Regions from separate parts of the Homo sapiens genome. Here regions 1 and 2 are each linked to region 3. Evidence: promoter capture Hi-C in human tissues and cell types (Jung and others, 2019). All regions are on one chromosome and are shown on one strand. The core of a region is centred on a gene start or on the middle of the fragment in contact, and the rest is flanking DNA. Distances in the headings are between cores, read along the strand shown.

The links. Contacts are between HindIII fragments. The study calls those that stand out against the background at their distance.
Region 1: a fragment that was not itself captured here is called in contact with the fragment with the promoter of ANO1 in region 3 in 2 of the 25 tissues and cell types used here (IMR-90 fibroblasts and stomach).
Region 2: a fragment that was not itself captured here is called in contact with the fragment with the promoter of ANO1 in region 3 in 2 of the 25 tissues and cell types used here (bladder and stomach).

Annotation. Positions count from the first base shown.
Region 1 is chr11:69,985,324-69,988,378 of GRCh38, forward strand. It overlaps a transcript of ANO1 not described here. Among named protein-coding and RNA genes, the nearest start is that of LINC02753, 79 kb to the right of the region's middle. RefSeq lists an enhancer at 760-1,577. The HindIII fragment of the contact is 3,913 bases long and covers 1-3,055 here.
Region 2 is chr11:70,002,164-70,005,116 of GRCh38, forward strand. It overlaps a transcript of ANO1 not described here. Among named protein-coding and RNA genes, the nearest start is that of LINC02753, 62 kb to the right of the region's middle. The HindIII fragment of the contact is 3,461 bases long and covers 1-2,953 here.
Region 3 is chr11:70,076,881-70,079,937 of GRCh38, forward strand. It overlaps ANO1 (anoctamin 1), which reads left to right and starts at 1,437. Exons shown (of 26, transcript NM_018043.7): 1 at 1,437-1,834. The coding sequence starts at 1,727. The HindIII fragment of the contact is 18,532 bases long and covers 1-3,057 here.

The DNA of each region.
Region 1 (3,055 bases), core at 387-2,886, 91 kb before region 3:
CGGGAGGGAACCCGGGGAGGGGAGGGGGGTGGGCAGAGGCGAATTTCTGGATTCAAGTTCAGGACCCCAGTGACCTGTAACCTCCAGCTCTCCTTTCCATCCCTGGGCTTCAGCCTCCTCGTGTGACAAATTGACAGTGATTCGTCGGGGTCCTGCCGCCTGGGGGAGGGGGCCAGGGCGCTCTTCTGATGCGGGAACCAGGGCCACTCACGGAACCGCCCCGCGCCCAGGGCTGCGCCCGTCTCTCGGGGGCTGGCTCAAGGCCCCCTCCTGTAGTCAACACCCCTTCCCTGGGGCCCTGGCTGGGGGTGCACCTCGCAGGGCCGCTCGGGGCCCCACTGCCCGCCCCAACTGATAAGACGGTCTGGGAGCGGTGGAGACGCGCCCCGCGCAGCGGGAGGCCGGGGGCGGGCCGGGACCTGGGGACCAGCCGCTGCTCCTCTGCAGCGTCCCGCGCCGCTCGCTGGGAGTCCGGGGAGCGCGGGGCGGGGCGAGGGCGGTGTCCGCAGGTAACCCCCGGGGGGTGGGGAGGTCTGCCCGGGACCCCCAGACCAAAAAGCCGAGGGGGAGGAGCGGCGCGGCCGTGAGCGAGGGCAGCCAAGTTTGGCTACAGCACGCGCGGCTTCGCTCCTGCCTCTGGGGAGGAGAGAGGGGACAGTCCCCTCCCGAGCTAGGCTCGGACCTTGGCCCCCAGAGCCGCCGCAGACCTCCAGGGGTGACTTCGTCGCTCCCTAGTCTGGACTCGCTAGGTCCCGGGTGCACCGGAGTCGCGCAGCGAACGCGCCATGCAGGAGGGCGACATCGGCCTGGAGGGGCTGCCCCCCAGGGAAGTCCCCACAGTCGGTGAGTATCCAGGGCGGCACGGGGGGTGAGGGACCGCGAGCGCGGCCGCAGTGGATCTGGGACGCCCCAGGGGCAGTGGCTTGCGGAGGACTCAGGGGCGCACGAGGAGCAGGAGGCAGGGACCCCCACCTCTGGTGGCGGGGACAGTCCTCCCCCCTCCGCGCTGCTCCCGGTGAAGGCGAGAGGGGAGGGACTGTGTCGGTCACAGGTCGCTGGGGCACTGACAGACAAACAGACGACAGACAGAGCCCCGGGGCTGGGCTGGGGCTGGGGGCGCCGCCGGGCAGGGGCCCCTGCGCGGCCCCTGGGGAGACATCTGCTAGGCCGGCCCAGGCTGTTCCCAATCCCGGGGGAGCGTCTTGCAGCGGATACGAGGTTTTCGGATGTTTTTACAGGCGCTATTAATACACATAATATTTCCGTGCTATTCTGGAGATTTATTTGTGATATAAAGTCACTACTATGACTCGAAATCATAATGGAAACTGAGAGGAACTTAGAGAGCCGGAGACAAATGAGGCCTGGACGCTAGGCCGGAGGGGGAGTCCCTGACTTCCTCCCCCCTGGCTGCACATAAATCACCACCCAGGATATTTTTGTACCAATAATTTTAAAATAAATGACCCAAGCCCTGTTTCCTGGATGATTCTCCCCTCCCAGTTCAGAGGTTATTAAATAAACCTAAGAGTGGGATAGTGACAAGGGGGCCGCAGTGTGCAGTGGGTTTTATTTAATTACACGCTGAGCTCTGCCCTTCTGAAGCCCTGGTTAGGAGGCAGTGCCCTGCAATCAGGATGCCACCGCCAACCCGGGACTGCTAACTATAGCATGGGAAGCCCTCCTTTTATTCTTCCCCCCTCCCTCCCCCGACTTTTCTTCTTTTCGAATTCCCATGGAGAAACTTATTCTGATGCGTGCCTTTCAAACAGCCGGGTCTGGCTTCTTTCTAGAAGTGACACTGTATACTCATCAAATTAAAGGCCCAGAAGAAAGAGAAAGGGGCCCCTCCAGCCAGAGCAGGCAAAAAACCTGGGCGCTGAAGTGGGCCACCAGGGCCTACTCTTGTGCGGCCAGGCTGTCCTGCCTTCCTGAGCGGCTTCCTCAAGCTCACGTGTAGAAATGATCCGTTCTGTGATCCACTGGAAACACAGCCCCAGCTCACTGTGTATGACCAGCCCACCAAGCTTCAGGCACTGATTCAAATGCTTCACACATTTATCCTCAGTGCTACCCTGTAAAGGGGTGTATAATCCTCCCCATTGTGCAGACAAAGAAACTGAGGCCACACAGCCAGTAACTGATGGCACCAAGATTAGAACGGAGGCCTGTTGTCCCGGGGCTACCTGAGGGGCTGAGGCAGGAGGATCGCTTGAGCCCGCAGTGTGCCTAGATCTTGCCACTGCACTCCAGCCTGGGTAACAGAGCAAGACCATGTCTCAAAAAAAAAAAAAAAAAAAAAAAAAAAAAAAAGACTAGAACCCAGGGTGTCTGAGTCCAGTTGCTGTGAGGCCACTGCCTCTCCCTTTCCCCACCCCAGGCAGAATCACCCAGCAATGCTTCTAGGACATCTTGAGGAAACCGTTCCCTGTGCATGAGGGTGTACTCTGGAGGCCTGTGCTTTGGTCTTTATAGGCTTTACATTTGGGCATGGGTCATGTCTCAGATGTGAGGACCTGGAGTGTTCCTTACTGGAGGATTCAGCTCATCAGATCTGAGCTGTAATCATGGATGGATGACGGCCACAGCCTCCACTCCCGGAGAGCAGGCCTTTCCTGTCCACCCCGCTGCACCTCGGCTGTGTGTGGGGTGGAATCGTGCCCCCTGCTGTGGGTAGCAGCCGTGTCAGGAGTAAGACCCCAGGACGGGTGTCCCAGCCTCGGTTCTTGGGTTTGCTGCCAGATGCACCATTCCACCGCAGTAGGCATGAAGAAATTCCATGGGAAGCCTCACAGCACCACGCCACTTTCGCTCTGTCCATGTCATTTACACCTGGAGGCCGTCAGTGGCTTCGCCCGTAAATAGGAAATTTAAAAAGCCACAGAGTTGGAGAACAGAAAGAGGTCTGGGTTCCCACTTTTTCCTGCCACCGGCACCCAGACCCAGAGAGAGGAAGCACTTATCTTGTGAAGTACAGAGAGCCCCAATTCTAGAGCCAGCCTCCCAGGTCTCAATCCCAGCTTTGCCGCCTGCAGCCCTGTGCCCTCGGCCAACT
Region 2 (2,953 bases), core at 218-2,717, 75 kb before region 3:
TTACCAGCTGAGCGCAGTGGCTCACACCTATAATCCCAGCACTTTGGGAGACCAAGGCAGGTGGATCATGAGGTCAGGATCCCAAACCTGCCCAATATGGGACCAGCCTGCCCAATATGGTGAAACCCCATCTCTACTAAAAATACAAAAATTAGCCAGGCATGGTGGCATGTGCCTGTAGTCCCAGCTACTCAGGAGGCTGAGGCAGGAGAATTGCTTGAACCCGAGAGGCAGAGGTTGCAGTGAGCCGAGATAGAGCCATTGCACTCCAGCCTGGGCAACAAAGCGAGACTCCACCAAAAAAAAAAAAAAAACACCAAAAAAACACTTACGATTATGTTGCCTACAGTATTCAGTGCAGTAACATGCTGTGAAGGTTTGTAGCCTAGGAGCAATGGGCCACGCCATACAGCCTAGCTGTGCGGTGGCTACGTCATCTCAGTTTGTGTAAGAACACTCTATGTTCACACTATGATGAAAACACCTAATGACACATTTCTCAGAGTCCCTGTGGTTAAGTGGTGCATGACTGCATTTTCTAATTCAGTTAGAAGATATAGGTCAGGAAACAGCTTTAAAGAAGTCATGGGTGCCGTCGAGCACTTCCTCTGTTGGAAACGGCCAACAACCATTGAGGGTAAAGCAAACTCTGGTTCCTGTCTGATTCTATACCCCTAATACCCCAAAGTGAGTTCCAGGCAAAGTAAAGATCTGAGTGCAAAAAACAAAATCATTAAGTATAAAAATAAAATTATAAATATTCTAGAAGAAAATAAGATGGACACTTACATTATCTTCAGGAAGGATTTTCTGAGCACAATACTAAACCCAAAAACTGTCGAGGAAAAATTTTTAACTTCCACAGATTAGAAAAAAAGAAACAACACCGTAAACAAAATAGAAAGAAAAATATCAAGCTGGGGGTAACTATTTGCTGAGTATCCAATAAAGAATTGTTTTTATCACTCTAAAATACACATATTTACAGACCAATTTAAAATGAAAGACCAACACACCAATGGGAAAATCGGCATGACCACAATAGGCAACTTACCACCAAAATGGCTAACTATTTAGAAAAGACAGCTTTACTCATAATCAGAGAAATCCACATTATAGGATCTGAGATGCTCATCAAACAGGCAAAATCGGTCAATATTACAATGGTTCAGCCTGTGGAAAACAAGCTGTCTCCTGACTCTGATATGGTCCCACTGGTCTCAGGACAGCTTGGCAGCATGTCGTCACCAATTCTCCCACAGACTTACTGTGTACCTCCTGTATGCAGGGCATTCTTGTATGGAAAGTGTTCCCTTCCACAGCCCTCTTCAGGCTGCAGGAAGCTTACTCTGTGCTGGGAGGGCATATCACCCTTTATGTCCAGTGCTTAGCACAGAGCTGGGGCTTAATAAATTGTTGGTGGATGGATGGGTGGATGGATGGATGGATGGATGGATGGATGGATGGATGGATGGATGGATGGATAAATGGGTAGATGAATGGAATGGGTGGATGGATAGGTAATTGTATTGATGGAGAGGATGGAGTAAATAAAACAGATGTTTACCACTTGATCAAATCACTCCAATCCTAGAAACATATCCTACAGAATTGATTGAGCAGGTGGATAAAGACTGTTTCACATAGAACAGTGAAAAAGAAATGACCCTAAGTAGGGACTGGATGGCTACCTGTGGACACCCCACAGGGAATAGTGTGAGGCTGCTATATCCTGGCCCTCAGCTCCTGCCATGTTCTCCCAGCCTCCACGTGCCAACCATACAGCCTCTCCCCACTTCTGGAAGAATCCAGGCACACTGTCCCGTCCAGACCACCCACGAGCTCCTCCTTCAGCCTGAGGCACTTTTCCTCCTGCTCCGACCCTTTGGACCTCCCTCATAACCTCTTCCCAGTCCCCAGGAGCCCACCAGGGGCTCCTTCAGCGGCCCCCAAAGCCCCAGGTCCTCACACAGTGGTCTCACCACCCTGCACCCCACCTGACTTTGTCTTCACAAGGGCAGCGCTGTGTTCCCATCTTGTTGGCTGGATGTTTTTCAAGCATCTGGTCTGTGCTAGACGTGAGCTTTAGAGTAGTGAGATGTAGTCCAGAACACAGTTACATGAGAGAGAGTGTGTGCAAAAAGAACAGGTTACAAAAAGATACAGCTATTAGAAATTACAATGGCTAATATTTGCTGTGTGTGACCACACGCCGGATGCTTATATGTGCACTTTTACAGGGACCATCTCATGACTAGTCATTGTGCCCTTCGAGGGAGGTACTGCTCCTTCCCCAATTTAAGGTGAGGCAACCTCTCACATGGTTGTGATGTGGTGGAGCCAGTGCTCAAATCCACACAGTGGGAACACAGGGTTCCAGGCCACTGTCAGATGGGGGCTATGAGAATAAAGCGTGTCGCGACGTTACGCAGCATCTCCTGGCTCTCAGAGCTTGCAGCCACAGGCTTCTCCATCACACTGCCCTCAAAAAATATCGTGGAGCAATGGAGATATCTTTTGTGTGGCTGCCCTGCTTTCTTCTAGACTTGGCAAATAAGCTTTCAGTGCTACTGGGAGAGATTTAACACAGTGGGCACAAGTGAGGTTGATTTACACTAGCGCACCTTTGAACAGTCCTTGACTTGGGGAATTAGAATTGGTGACAGAGGCCGGGCGCTGTGGCTCACACCTGTAATCCCAACACTTTGGGAGTCCCAGGTGGGTGGATCACCTGAGGTCAGGAGTTCGAGACCAGCCTGGCCAACATTGCAAAACCCCGTCTCTACTAAAACTACAAAAATTAGCCAGGTGTGGTTGCAGGTGCTTGAAATCCCAGCTACTCAGGAGGCTGAGGCAGGAGAATTGCTAGAACCTGGGAGGCGCAGGCTGCAGTGAGCCGAGATCGTGCCACTGCACTCCAGCCTGGGTGACAGAGCGAGATTCCAACTCAAAA
Region 3 (3,057 bases), core at 187-2,686:
TAGTAGTGACAACAGTCACCATTGCTAAGCCTGGCAGCTTCAGGCACGCTTAAAACTCCCATGAGAAGGCAGAGGCTCTGAGGCCCAGGAGGCTCTGAGGCCAAGGAGGCTGGCACAAGGTCACAAGGCTGGAAGGTGCCAGAGCTGGAGCTAGACCCCACCCCTTCTCTCCAACCCTATCCTAGCTGACTCCAGGTTCCATGCTTGGAACCATGGCACGCTGACGACATCGTGGCCTTTAAAGACAATTTTCTAATCACTTCTGTAGGCCTTGAATGTTCCCCAGTGGCCATTTAACAAGCAATTATTGAGCATCGGCTGTGTGAACCTGGTAGACAACCCACTGTAAAATGAGACGGAATAAATGAAGTGCTAGTTGGGGTTCAGGCAGGTTCTTTGGATAGACAGGAAGGCCTGCATATTTGGGTGGGAAGGGGACAGTAGGGGAGAATCCAGCAGGACTTCCTGCAGGAGGTGCTATCTGATGCACACCGTGAAGAACTCATAGGATGTGAGAGGCAGAGGGACACTTTATTTCCACTGGATGTGGTGGCCAGCATGGCCCCTGGGGCTTAACCTGAGTATGGTCGTCCCCTGGGGACCTGCCTTATTCTCCTTAGGGGAAGAAGACTTGAAGATCTGCAGTGTGCCAGACCCCTGCTAGGTCCGGGGGTAAGAGAGATCAAAGCCACCATCCCCCCCGCTCCGCCCCTCCAGAAAGCAGGACAGCCTTGCCCAGCAGTGGGGAAAGCTCTGCAGGAGCCCCGCCCCACCTCAGAGGATGCGGACTGGTCCTTGGCCCTCCTAAGCCTGAGTGTCCTCTGCAAAATGAGGACCCGCATTCCAACCTTGCAGGTGCGGGGTTAAATGAGATGATACACACTCACGCCCTACATCAGGGACGCTGCACGCACCTGGGCACAGAACACTAAGCACTCCGTAAACTCGGGGGCACCGGTAACATCAGTGGGCTCCAGGGAGATGACTGCCCCGGGAGAGACTCCCCCAGGAGCGCGGGCAGCTGGAGGGGGCGGGTCGGCAGGAACCAGGCAAGCTCCCCGGAGGAGGTGAGTGCTGAGTGACAGCAGGAGTTTGCCAGGGTGGAGGGAAAGGGGCAGAGATCCAGACTCCAATCTCAGAAGCTTCACTCCCCCCGGAGGCGGAGGTGACGCGCCACAGAAGCGCCTGCCACTCGGGGACTTTATTTCAGGTGGGGCTATTGAAAGTTCCCCCCTTTCACACCCGGTATGAAAACCCTCAAAAATCCAAAGGGGCACTTTCCCTGGATAAAAATAAAACTTGGAGGGGCCCGCAGGAATGGAATACTTTTTCTTCCTGTGTTTAAATTTCTACGGAAAATCTGACCGGCGCGGCCACCGCCCCTGCCATAGGCGGGCGGAGAGCGCTTATATCTTTAAGGCAAAGGCGGGCCGGCTGGCGTCCAAGTTCCTGACCAGGCGCGGGCCGGCCCGCGGGACCAGCAGCCGGGTGGCGGCGCGATCGGCCCCGAGAGGCTCAGGCGCCCCCCGCATCGAGCGCGCGGGCCGGGCGGGCCAGGGCGGCGGGCGGAGCGGGAGGCGGCCACGTCCCCGGCGGGCCTGGGCGCGGGGAGGCCCGGCCCCCTGCGAGCGCGCCGCGAACGCTGCGGTCTCCGCCCGCAGAGGCCGCCGGGGCCGTGGATGGGGAGGGCGCGCCGCCCGGCGGTCCCAGCGCACAGGCGGCCACGATGAGGGTCAACGAGAAGTACTCGACGCTCCCGGCCGAGGACCGCAGCGTCCACATCATCAACATCTGCGCCATCGAGGACATCGGCTACCTGCCGTCCGAGGGCACGGTGAGTGCGGGCGGCCGCGACCCGGGCGGGAGGGCCGCGCACCTGCGCCTTGGCGAGGGCGGGAACCGGGCGGCGGCAGGGCCTCCTGGGACCCCAGGGCGGGGGCCGCACCCTCCGCGCAGGGTTCGCGGCGCCCACCCGCGCACGTGCGTGCCGGGAAGGGCGCGCCGGCCCTGGCCAAGTGCGTGCGCCCCGCCTGCGCTCTGAGCGTTCCGAGCGCGGCGCCCACTCCGCCCAGCGCAGCGCCGGGCCCCCAGGCATGGCCCGGCCTCGGAGCTCTGCGGCCCCGAAGCCGCCTCACCCGGGGCTGCAGCTCGGAGCCCAACCAAGAGCTCACGGCTGGCGCCCTGGATGGGACCTTCCCTTCCTGGCTCGCGGCCAGGGGTACCTGTTGGGGCAGCCAGGGTGAGGGTGATGGTGGGGGTCTTGGGTGAAGGCCAAGTTGGTCGCCACTCCACGATGATGGTAACTGCCAGGCCCCACTGCTTCACTATCCTCTGGGGCCAGAGTCCCGAGTCCTCACTTGCCAGAAACGCATATTGTGCCCAGGGCACTGGGCCTGGTACCCTGGCATTGGCACCGAAACTCTCAAAGCCCAGGGTGTCAATCATTGGAGATTGCTTTCTACCCTCGCCCCTGTCTCCCCTGGGCGCCCAGGCCTGGTTCAGGTGGGGGCACTGGTTGGAAGCCAGTCATGTAAGTTGGGGACCCCATCCTGAGGTCCCCAATATCCCCACCACCCTCCCCAGGGCCAGACCCAGAGGTCTAGGTAACCCTATGTTTTAGAGAGGGGGGCAGAATTCTCCCAGGAAGGGTTTGGCTTGAAGGACAAAGTTTGCCGGAAGAGGATAGGACAGGGCTGGGACTGGCTATCTCCTCTTGGGGTGAGGGAAGCTCTCAGCAGCAATTTGTGGGACCTAAGGACAGAAGCTCCCTTCTACCTTCTTCCCATGCAGACCCCATCAAAGCCCCTCCCCAGGCGTCAGGCCCAGCAGGGCTGCTTCAAGCAGGATGAGGATGGCCCTGGCCTGTCCCTCTAGTCTCTGGAGCTCACAGAGAGGCAGGGAATGAAGCGGGAGCAAAGCTCCTGCTTTGAGTCTCTGTTCCAGCGACAGCAGGGACTCTGGCCTTGGTCAGGCCTTGCACCCCTTGGGTCACAGTGGAGGGGGGTGGCCTGGGGGCATCTCTTCAGGAAATGAGATTGCACAGAGCTGCCAGGAGCA